Linked DNA regions of Homo sapiens: region 1 is linked to region 2. The links are contacts of gene promoters, found by promoter capture Hi-C in blood cells and fetal thymus (Javierre and others, 2016). All regions are on one chromosome and are shown on one strand. Each heading gives the region's core, a stretch centred on a gene start or on the middle of the fragment in contact. The rest is flanking DNA. Distances are from core to core; before and after follow the strand shown.

Evidence for each region. Contacts are between HindIII fragments. The CHiCAGO score rates a contact against its expected background, and 5 or more counts as called.
Region 1: a fragment that was not itself captured here is called in contact with the fragment with the promoter of RTL9 in region 2 in 1 of 17 cell types (M2 macrophages); the score reaches 5.0 in M2 macrophages.

Annotation. Positions count from the first base shown.
Region 1 is chrX:109,918,583-109,924,388 of GRCh38, reverse strand. No RefSeq gene overlaps it. Among named protein-coding and RNA genes, the nearest start is that of TMEM164, 82 kb to the left of the region's middle. The HindIII fragment of the contact is 2,619 bases long and covers 1,193-3,811 here.
Region 2 is chrX:110,355,350-110,361,279 of GRCh38, reverse strand. RTL9 (retrotransposon Gag like 9) reads right to left here and starts at 2,432. Exons shown (of 4, transcript NM_001385449.1): 1 at 2,364-2,432. It also overlaps a transcript of AMMECR1 not described here. The HindIII fragment of the contact is 7,244 bases long and covers 1-5,930 here.

The DNA.
Region 1 (5,806 bases), core at 1,253-3,752, 440 kb after region 2:
CCTCACCGAAAAGTTATCTTTGAGTAAAGGCTTAAGGGGGTTAAGCAAATTAACGCTAATGGGGGCCAGGCATAGTGGCTCATGCCTGTAATCCCAGCATTTGGGAGGCCGAAGGGGGCGGATCACTTGAGGTCAGGAGTTTGAGACCAGCCTGGTCAACATGGCGAAACCCAATCTCTACTAAAAATACAAAAATTAGCTGGGCGTGGTGGTACATACCTGTAATCCCAGCTACTCGGGAGGCTGAGGCAGGAGAATCTCTTGAACCCGGGAGGCAGAGGTTGCAGGGAGCCGAGATCACATCACTGCACTCCAGCGTGGGTGACAGAGTGAGACATTCCATCTCAAAAAAAAAAGCAAAAGACAAAAAACAAATTAACAGTAATGGTCACTAATGGTTTTCTTCCATAGTTTAAGTGCTCTCTAGGAAAAGAGAGTTCACCAGCTTCCATCATAGGCTTATGCATTGATCTATGTATGCATTCATCTAGTACCTATTGATTGAATGCCTGATGCCAGACATTGTATTTGCTGAAGATAAAATAATTCTAATACTTACTGTGTCATCACCATGCACTAGGTACTGTCCCAAGCATTTTTCCCACATTAACTCATTTACTCATCTTAACAACCCAAGGCAGTAAGTGCCATTATCGTCTCCATTTTATAGATAAGGGAATTGAGGCACAAGGGATATCAGGGATAGTCAAGGTATGCTACCTGTCCTCAAAAAGCTCTCAGTCTGACAGAATACAGATATATAAGAACTACAATGCAGAGCCTGATAGAAGGAAGGATAAGGCATTACGGGAACAAAGAAGGGCCCTATTGAGGGCCTTTGTTTTTTTTTTTCATTTTTTTTTGTTTTTGTTTTTGTTTTTCAGATGGGGTCTCACTCCCATTGCCCAGGATGGAGTGCGGTGGCATGATCACAGCTCACTCTAGCCTGCAATGAAAGATATTTTAAAAAGCAATTTGCTATCAAATTCATTGTAAGACTGTTGTAAAGATTGCCATCTACTACATCTTATGGTACCCTCTTTTCTGGGAATCTTCTGAAGATATTTCTCTCAAATATCAGGAAAAAAAAACCCTGAGCTCTTAAAGTGGGGAGGGTATTTTTTAAACTTATGGATGCTGTGAATCCTGTAACTAATCAGATTTCTATCTTTGCATTGGCTGCCGGAAAGCTTAGAAATATATTTGTGGTCTACGTCTCTAGCATTGGAAGAATCTTTTGGCAGGCATTTTTCTAGGTGAATCTTGTCCTTCCCCTGGATTTTTGTTCCTTTTCCTTACCCTGAGTATTTTTTGCCATGATTTTGTATTTTTTCTTCCCATTTTATGCATTTTGAAAGCCACCATAAATATTTTTAAGAATAATACAAAAAGTAGAGTAGTTTTGAAGGATGAATTTATCAGATGGACACAGAGAAAAGGACATTCCAGGCAACATGTGCAGAGGACTGAAGGCATGAGAAGTAATGGTATGTATTAGGGAAAGTAAGGTGGACAAGGGAAGGGCTCCAAGCTGAGCCTACGGTGTCAGACATGCTGGTGTCTGAGGCTCAAACTTACAAATTTTATGACTTAATGTATCTGAGCCTTGGTTTCTTTTCTGTAAAATGGAAACAATAGTTACACCTATCTCATAGAATTGTAGTGAGGATTAGATTCATTCACGCATCAAAAATATGTATTCAGGGCCGGCCATGTGCCAAGCACTGTGCTAGACACTGGGAGGAGAGAAGTAAATAGATAAGAATGATGGTCTTGCTCACCATGGAGCCTGTAGACTGGTGTAGATAACACATGTAAGGTGCTTAGCACATGGCAAGTGCTCAATAAATAGGATAAATAATATTATAAATGGTAGTATAATAAGAATAGTATAAATATTGTTGCATGTTCAGGCATGAGAACTCAAGGGACTTCCTGTCTAAGCAGTAGCACTGGGGAAAGGGACAGCAGATGATGCTGGCAAAATGTGAAGAGGACAGATAGCCTACACGACTAAGGAGTGTGGAGTCATAGATTTTGAGCGAGAGAGAGAGAGAGATTGGTGGAGGGTGGGGGAGATGATTTTTTTTTCAGAAAAAAAAAACAAAACACTTTATTTTGAAAAACAAATTCAGCCAAGTGTGGTGGCTTGTGTCTGCAGTCCTAGCTACTTGAGAGGCTGAGATAGGAGGATCATTTGAGATCAGGAGTTTGAGACCAGCTTGGGCAACATAGCAAGACCCTGTCTTGGGTGAGGTGGCTCAGGACATTAATTCCAGCACTTTGGGAGGCTGAGGTGGAAGGATCACTTGAGGCCAGGAGTTCAAGACCAGTCTGGGCAACATAGTGAGAACCCATCTCCACAAAAATAAAAAAAAAAAAAAAAAAACAGCCGGGTGTGGTGGTGCATGCCTGTAGTCACAGCTGCTTGGGAGGCTGAGGTGGGAGGATTGCTTGAGGCAAGGAGTGTGAGGCTGCAGTGAGCCATGATTGCACCACTGTACTCCAGCCTGGGTGACAGAGACCCTGTCTCTATAAAACAAACAAACAAAAATTGAGTCCCTAAATTCTTATGTCTAAACTTATGTCCCTAAATTCTTATGTCTAAATCTTTCTTCCTGCAGATTTTATGTACATTTCTATCTTCCTTCTTTTTCTCCTCTTCCTCCTCCTCTTCTGCTTGTTACTACTCCTACTACTGCTCCTAGTTGCTCTCATTTCTTGAATGATTACAACGCTGGGCACCGTGTCTTTTTTTTTTTTTTTTTTTTGGAGACAGAGTCTCACTCTGTTGCCCAGGCTGGAGCACAGTGGTGTGATCATGGCTCATTGCAGTGTCAACCTCCTGGGCTTAAGCAATCCTCCTACCTCAGCCTCCTGAGTAGCTGGGACTACAGGTGCATGTCACCACACCCAGCTAATTTTTGTATTTTTTGTAGAGATGAGGTTTTGCCATGTTGCCCAAGCTGTGTGCTAAGTAATTAACTTGTGATTAATGGTACCTACCTCATAGAGTCATGAAGATTTTCCTCTTCATTTTACAGATGTGGAAACTGACATTTAGAGAAATTAGGTAACTTGCCCAAGGTAACTTGTTTAGTAAATGGTGAAGTTAATTTCTGAACCATGATATCTTGAATAATGAAGGCTATTTAATGAGTGTCAGGCATTCTTCATGCATAACTTCATCTCATTTTATCCTCACGACAGTCTTCTTAGATAAATATTATTATCCCCATTTTATAGATAATTTGAGCCTCAGAGAGGTTAAGTAACTTTTCCAGAGTCACACAGCTTATATGTAGTATAGCTCTACATTGAAATTTTGGATAGTATTACTATTTAAATAGGAAGATGTATAAAGGTTGTACTTAAATTCTGGGTGCTAGAGTGGAAATGCTTTGGGTCAACAGATAGGTCAACCGAACAGTAGTCCTTGTCTTAAATGGGCCACCCTTTCCTAATGTGCCTTATGAAAGAACTAGAAACAACTATCTGAAGCTGGCTTCCCATTTTAGTAGCTTTACAGCAGTTCCTGAAGCACCAGCCTTTTAACAGAAGGTTAGAAGCTAAAGCTCACACTCGAAGTGGTTTCTCCCTTTTCAACCAACCCTGCCCCTTATGTACATATACCACCCGCCCCAGATACTCTGATGCCACAGAATAAACTGGAGAAGGGGGGTTGTGCACAGGGAGATTTGGCCTGACTGTCTGCTGAAGAAACCAGTGTTGGTAGAAACTAATGAATCTGGGCTTGACAGCATTCTTTCCATAAAAAAATCATTATAAAATGCTGCTGTCTCCTGAAGCTTCTCAGCCCGGCTCCTGATTCATGGGCGATAAGCTCAGAGTTGCAGGCCTGCCGCCTTATTGCCATACAAAACATTAATCTTCTGGGTTTTTCCACCCCCCTGACAGCACAGGGTAATCAGGCAGAATTACAGCTCTGAAATGTTTGTGATTATGGGATTTGCAGCAAATAAATTGCTCAGGCTTTGGTGTCAATAGCTATAGCTTTTTTCTTTTCCTATCTTTTTATTTTCTGTTTCTGGAAGGCAGAGCGCACCTTTCTACATTTCAATTCCACATATATTTCTTCAAAAGGCCTCGATTCTCCATTTATAAAAGAAATTTATTTGACCAGCTACAGTTAGCATTTGTGAATATTGGGACAACTGGGGGCCTGGTGTTAGCTCTGGGTTAGAGGAACCTAGCTTCTCAGTTCTGTTTGCTGAATGTACGGACAGGGTGGCAAACGGGATCAGAGCAGAGGCCACGCTCAGGAAATGGAAGGCCTGAGTCAAGTTACAATGGGAATAAAGTTTCAGAAGTACTGAGGAGGCTCCCTTCCCTCTCCCTCACTGGAATACTTACTGCTGCTACTTGAAATTTCATTTGGCTGGGCACGGTGGCTCACGCCTGTAATCCCAGCACTTTGGGAGGCCGAGACAGGTGGATCATCTGAGGTCAGGAGTTCGAGACCAGCCTGGCCAACAAGGTGAAATCCCGTCTCTACTAAAAGTACAAAAATTAGCCGGTCATGGTGGCGCATGCCTGTAACCCCAGCTACTCGGGAAGCTGAGGCAGGAGAATCACTGGAACTTGAGAGGTGGAGGTTGCAGTAAGCCAAGGTCATGCCACTGCACTCCAGCCTGGGCAACAGAGCGAGACCCTGTCTCAAAAAAAAAAAATTCATCATTCATGTTTGATTTCTTTGGCTTTCGTTTTAATTCCCTGTTTGGATGCAAGTGTCCCTGGAGAAGCACATTACTTTGTTTCAGGGAATAAGTTTGTCTCTTCAAATGTATAAAAAGAAGGGATGTTTGTCTCACAATGTAATGTTTTCAAATAAGCAGTACATTTAAGTGATTCAAAATTCGAAACTATGTAAAAGGAATACATTAAGAAGTCTTTCTCCTCCTCTGTCTTAATTTACCTGTTTTTTTTGTTCAATCCCCTTGCCTCTAGTAGGTAACCACTTTCATTAACTTCTTGTATAACTTTTTATTATTTGTACAGATATGTACACGAGTCTTCCATATTTTCCTCCTTCAATGTAGTATATATCATGGAGATATTTCAATATCAGTACAGACACAGTTTCCTCAACCATTTTTTTAAACAACTGCGTAACATTACATTGCATGAATGTACCATTGTTTATTTATTCAGTTCCCTATAGATGGACACTTGGGTTGTTTCCAACCTTTCACTATTATAAACAATACTGCAAGGAATAATCCTGCACATGAGGTGCTTCCTGAAGTGTGAAAGTCAGCCTGTAAGATAAAAAACCAGAAAGGTAAATACTTTTAGAAATATTAACAAATATTGACAAATTGCCCTCTGTGGTGGTTGTATTATACACTTTTGCATTCCCAACAGCAATGTATGAGAGTGCTCATTTCCCCCACTACTTTACAACTGAGTGTTGCCAAACTTTCGGATTCTGGCAAACCTAACAGGAGGGAAATGCTGTGTATATTTGGTTTTAGTTTATACTTGTGAGTGTGGTTGAGTGCCTTTTCAGATGTTCAAGGGCTGTTTTAATTTCATTTTCTATGGACACTCTGTTCATGTCCTTTGCTCATTTTTCCATTGTATTGTCAATCTTTTCCTACTTAGTTTCCAGGAGCTCTTTATATATTTTTTTAACCCTTTAAATTTTTATTTTTTTAATTTTTAAATTTAATTTCTTTGGATATATAGCTGTGTATATTTATGGGGTACATGAAATGTTTTGGTACAGGCATGAGATGCTTAATAATTACAAATTAAGAATATTAGTCTTTTCATTATGTTAAGT
Region 2 (5,930 bases), core at 1,183-3,682:
ACCAATAAGATTTGCTGATCAAATAAATGTAGGATATGAAAGAGGGAAAAATCAAGATTGATTCCTAGGTCTTCCGCCTGAGCAACCGGAAGAATGAAATTGGTATTTAGGGAGACGGGGAAGACTGTGAGGAGCAGGTTTTGTGAGTGCAGCAGGTTTTGTTGGGGGTTGTGGGCAGGGGCAGTTTTGAACATGGTAAGTTGGAGATACCTATTAGGCATGCAAGTTGATATGTCCAGCAGGCAATTGGGCATAAAAGTATGGAGATACAAATTTGTGACTCATCAGCAAATAGATAGTATATTAAGCCACGAAGATCGGAGCATCACTAAGAAGATAAAGGACAGAAGATATCTTAGGCTTCAAGCCTTCCTCTACCTTTCAACTCCAGAAGTCAGTCCGTGACAAAATCCTATCAATTCTTCCTGTATAATGTCTCTCAATTCACCATTTTCCTTCCATTCCCACTGCTACCATTGTAGTCCAGGATCTCACCTTGTCTTACTTGGCTTTTACAATAGCCTCCTAACTGGTTTCCTTGCCTCCAAATGTCAACTTGAAACTCATCATCTCATTTGTCCTTCCCCTCCAAAAAAATCTTTCTACTTCTCCTGGGCTCTCTATCTTAAAGAATGGCATCACTATTCATAAGCATTTGCTTAAACTTGAAAATTTGAAATCCTCCTTGTCACCTCCCTTTCTTCTACTCTCCATTATGCAATTCTATTACCAAACCCTGACATTTTTACCTCCAAAATATAACTCAATTCTGTCCACCATTCTCTGTCTCTATTACTATCAATCTAGTTCAAGATAACATCACCTCCCACCTGGACAATGGTAATAGCCTCTTGACTACTCTTCTTCCCTCTAGTTAATCTCCCATATGAAAACCAGTGGAATCTTTCTAAAACAGTGCTATGCATATTTTGCCTACCTATTCTGTAGGTCCACAGAATAAAATTCAAAAGCCCTTCATCATTTGCCCATAACTTTTCTTTCCAATGGTATCTACTATGGCTTCTCTGGAAATTCCCCTCATTTCATCCCTGTGGGCTTGTCAGTGGTCTTTAGACCCACCATGACCACAGTGTGCCCCCAATACCTAGTGCAGACCTTCCCAAACATATTACAAGTGTCTGAGGCTATGAGATTTCTTCTCTGTCCTCAACTGAGCCCAGAGACAGTGCTGTTGAAACTCCTAGAATGCTTGCCTCTAGATGTCAAACTGCTTCCTCCATTCAGCCTAGTGTGCTTTACAAATACTATGCTTTTCTCTGCATGCCATGACACAATAAAGGTTGTGAAGGACTGCTTTAATGCACACCATTCCCAGAGTTTGGAAAGTGCTGCTCCATTCTCTTCTCTAAGTTCTAAGTACCCTTCTATGCCAAGTTCAAGTCTCACCTTTCTGATAAAGCAGTCTTTGATGCTACATATCCAACCTCAAAATTCTTGTATGATGTGACCAGACCACTCATTTGGCACTTAGTATATGTGCTGCTATTTAACTTTTTATGGTGAGACCTTATCTCTCTGTGTTGTCTGTTGCTTAAGAGCAACAATTTTTATACCGACTTTTGCACCCAGGGCCTTACCATACAGTAAGACACTCAGTATATTTTTACAATATTAATGAATAAATTAATTAATGAATAGATAGTTAAATTCCATCAGATGGTGCAATGGACAAGAACATTAGATTCAGAATCAGAGAATCTGGATTCTAGTGCACTTTGCCACTAGATGGTTGTGTGAGACTTCAGGAAAGTTGCTTGCCTTAGTTGCCTCATTCACAAAATAGGAACAATACTTCCCATTGTGACTTCCCAAGTTGAGATGGGATAATTTATGGAAAAAATATTTGGCAGATGAAAAGAGCATGTCGTTCATGAGTAATGCCAAAAGAGGCAGTGTGGAAGATAAAGAATGAGCTCAAAGAAGCTGCAGAAAACATTAGAGGGTTCATGGGTGAAAAAAAAGCCAAAGGGGTAAGGGAAATTTGCTAGCAAAGTAGACTTGCCCAGGAGTGATTGAGAAAGGATGATAAACACAGAAGAAAGAAAAATCAAGTTTCTGTTGCGAAGCAGTATAACACAGCCACTAGATCCAGACTGCCTAGGTTCAAAGCCTGGCTCTGGCACTTAACCAGCTATGTGACCTTGAACAAGTTATTTAACATCTCTGAACTTCAGTTTACTCATATGTATTATGGGGGCAATAATAATGCCTATTTCCAGGGAAGTGTTATAAGATGTAAAGGAGTTAATACTTATAAAGTACTTAGAGCAGTGCAGACCAGTGCCTAGCATATAGAGCGTTATAGAAGAACGTGTTAGATAAAATAATAATCTTCTCCTTACCAGGCAATACTCCAGTCCTCATGGCTGGCACTTTCTCCTGGGACCTGGAGCAGGGCTCACGAAAGTTCTGACTTGCTCTCCAGTGGGCACGTCTCCTTTCCACATTCCAGAGCCCAGTCCTCTGAGCTTAGCCTATCTCACTGCTCAAAGGACACTATGTTTCCCAGCCTACAAAGTTTCTTTTCAATTCTTTAGCCTTTTTCAAAACCCAATAGAGTTCCTTGTGAGAACAGATAGGAGTGAATTCCATAAGCTCCCAGAAGCAAATACAGACAGTATAATCTAATCTTTTAGAGCAATGGCTTTGTAATCAAGCAAAAGAGAGTTTGAATCAGGGCTCTGTAAATGACCAACTGAGTGACCTTGGACAAATCCAAGGTCTGAGCCTCAGCTTGCTTGTCTTCAAAATGAGGCCTCACAGGTGGTTGTCAGGATCAAATGAGAAAATGGACATGATGCATTCAGTATAGGGCCTGGCATGTGGTAAGCACTCAGAAAGTGTTAGCTCTTATCATTAATAATTCCTAGGATTATGGGTCTCGATTTTCCCAACTCTAGAATGTAATTTAATAGCACTATAGCTCTTATCCACTATTCCTCTGTCATCTCAATTTGACCCTTCCAAACTAAAAAGGTGCAAAAAAATATTCTTGGTGTGATAAGTTGACAACACTCTGCATTTTACACTCCCTTTGAGGTTTATGCCCAGTTTAAAAGAATTACAGAGAAAGAACCCGCAACTCTAAGTATGCTTCAGATTTCCATATGTCTGTAAATGCCTCAAAGACAGCAGTGGTCCTCTTAGCCTAGGGTGAACATCAAAATCACCTATTTTTATTTTTAATTTCATTAAATATAATTCTTCTGATAAAATGGCAAAGAATTTTTTTTCAAAATCCTTGCTTTTACCCTAGAAATGATACTCCTCATGAAACAAATGTCCAATGGGGAGACAGAGGGCCAGGCAAGTATATTTTGCAAAAGTTATCCAAGTCAGTCTCGTAAACACCCCTGATGTGAGAGAGGGACTGGAACATGCATTTGGAGGATGAGGCCAGGGTCTTGCCTTGAGAAAAAATCCAAGAAGGGCAAGTATAACCACTCTGCTTCCCACACAATGTGGGTATGTAGAAACATGCCCTGCACCCACAGGGAAGAGCATAGTATTTTCTCCTGCATGCATTAATCACAGAGGATTTCCCTCCTATAGTTATACAAGCATCATCCTTGACACATCAGTTGGAGAACTGTACTCAGTGAGAATACAAGATTCATCCAGCTTTGAAAATGTAACTATATCTAACAACTGGATTAAATATATTTCATGCCCAAAGATCTAATACTATTTAAAGCCTACAGCAAGGAAGAATGATTACCAAATAATTTAATTATTTTTGGTTTACACATCTGTCATCAAAGTTAATCGTTTGCTGGCAGAAACTGGCCATTTGGTCTTGACCATGATCACTAATGAGTGTGCTTGCATTTCATATCAAGGAAACAGTCTCTCAAATGGTTCTAATCAAATAAATTAAAAGCTGAAATACTTTTAAAAAAGTAAAAAGTGTAAAAAGGCACAATTTATAAGATTTATGAAGTGGTTACTTTTTCTTTTCTGATTTTATGTATATCTATCACTCAACACTTGCTGTGAAACATATTAGATACACCTACGTTACTTTGGAGGACCACCAAATATTTGATTTTCCCATGTATTTATCTAAAAATGTTATTAAATTTTCATTTAAATCTTTCAAAAATAGAGTGTTAAATTTCATGTATATGTGTGATCTATACTAATAGATCTAAGCTAATGTATACATACTCAGTTCTCATTTTTCTATTTGCAAAATTCAAACTAATGAATTAGTTTGAAGAAAGAAGAAAGAAATGAAGAATTTTGAAAAGTAATTCTCAAAATGCTTAAAAATAGATGCTAAATTCATTGAGCTACTCATTTCAATATTTTAATATAAGAATGCAAAATTTGTAATGTAGTAGTTAGGTACACAGACTTGAAAATCAGGGAGAAGTGATTCCATTTTCCTTCTGCTCTCTTGCTAACTATGCAACCTCAGGCAAGTAACTGCACTTCTCTGAGCTTTAGTTATCTCATCTGTAAAATGAGGATAATAATATTATATGTCATAAGGGATGTGGACATTAAATATGATAATACTTACAAAATATTATTATTTTTTCCTTTCAAAACTATTTTTAATTGACAAATGATAAGGTGTGTATATATATATATGGTACAATGTGATGTTTTGATCTATGTGTATATTATAGAAAGATTCAATCAAGCTAATGAACATATCTATCACCTCGCTAATTTATCATTATTTTGTGGTAAGAACATTAAAAAGCTATTCTTTTACCAATTTTGAAATACACAATATATTATTATTAACTGTGGTTACCATGTAGTGCAATACATCACTAAAAGTTATTCCTCTAGTTGGCCAGTGTGGTGGCTCACACTTGTAATCCCAGCACTTTGGGAGGCCGAGGCAGGTGGATCACCTAAGGTCAGGAGTTTGAGACCAGCCTGGCCAACATGGTGAAACCCCGTCTCCACTAAAAAAACACAAAAATCAGCTGGGTGTGGAGGTACATGCCTGTAATCCCATCTACTCTGGAGGCTGTGGCAGAAGACTCACTTGAACCCAGGAGGTGAAGGTTGCAGTGAGCCGAGATGCTGCCACTGCACTCCAGCCTGGGCAACAGAGTAGGACTCTGTCTCAAAAAAAAAAAAAAAAAAAAGGTTATGCCTCCAGTCTCACTGAAATTTTATATAATTTGATCAACATCTTCCCTTTCCCCAACCCTCCTCCTCCCCACTAACCTCTGGTAACCACCTTTCTGTTCTTTGTTTCTATGATATCCACTTTTTAAGATTTCACGTAGGAGATCACACAATATTTATCTTTCTGTGCTTGCCTTATTTCACATAGCATAGTATCTTCCAGTTCCATCCATGTTGTTTTGAATGATAGAATTTTCTTATTTTTTAAGGCTATATAGTATTCCATCGTGTATAGGTATTACATTTTCTTTATCCATTCATCTGTTGATGGACATTTGGGTTGCTTCCACATCTTGACTATTGTGAATAATACTAAAATGAACATGGGCGTGCAGATATCTCTTTGACATACTGATCTCAATTCCTTTGGATTTATACCCAGAAGTGACATTGCTGTATCATACGGTAATTCTATTTTTAGTTTTTTGAGGAACCTTTATACTGTTTTCCAAATGGTTATATGAATTCACCTTCCAATCAACAGTGTGCAAGGATTCTCTTTTCACCATATTCTCACCAACACTTATCACTCATCTTTTTGATAATGGCCATTTTAACAGATGATACCTCATTGTGGTTTTACTTTGCATTTCCCTGATGAGTATAGATGTTGAGCATTTTTTTTCACATATCTGTTGGCAATTCACAACTCTTAAGAAATGTCTATCCAAATCCTTTGCCCATGTTTTTAAATTTTTAAAAACTTTAGAGACAGGGTTTTGCTCTGTTGCCCAGGCTGAAGTGTGGTGGCACAATTA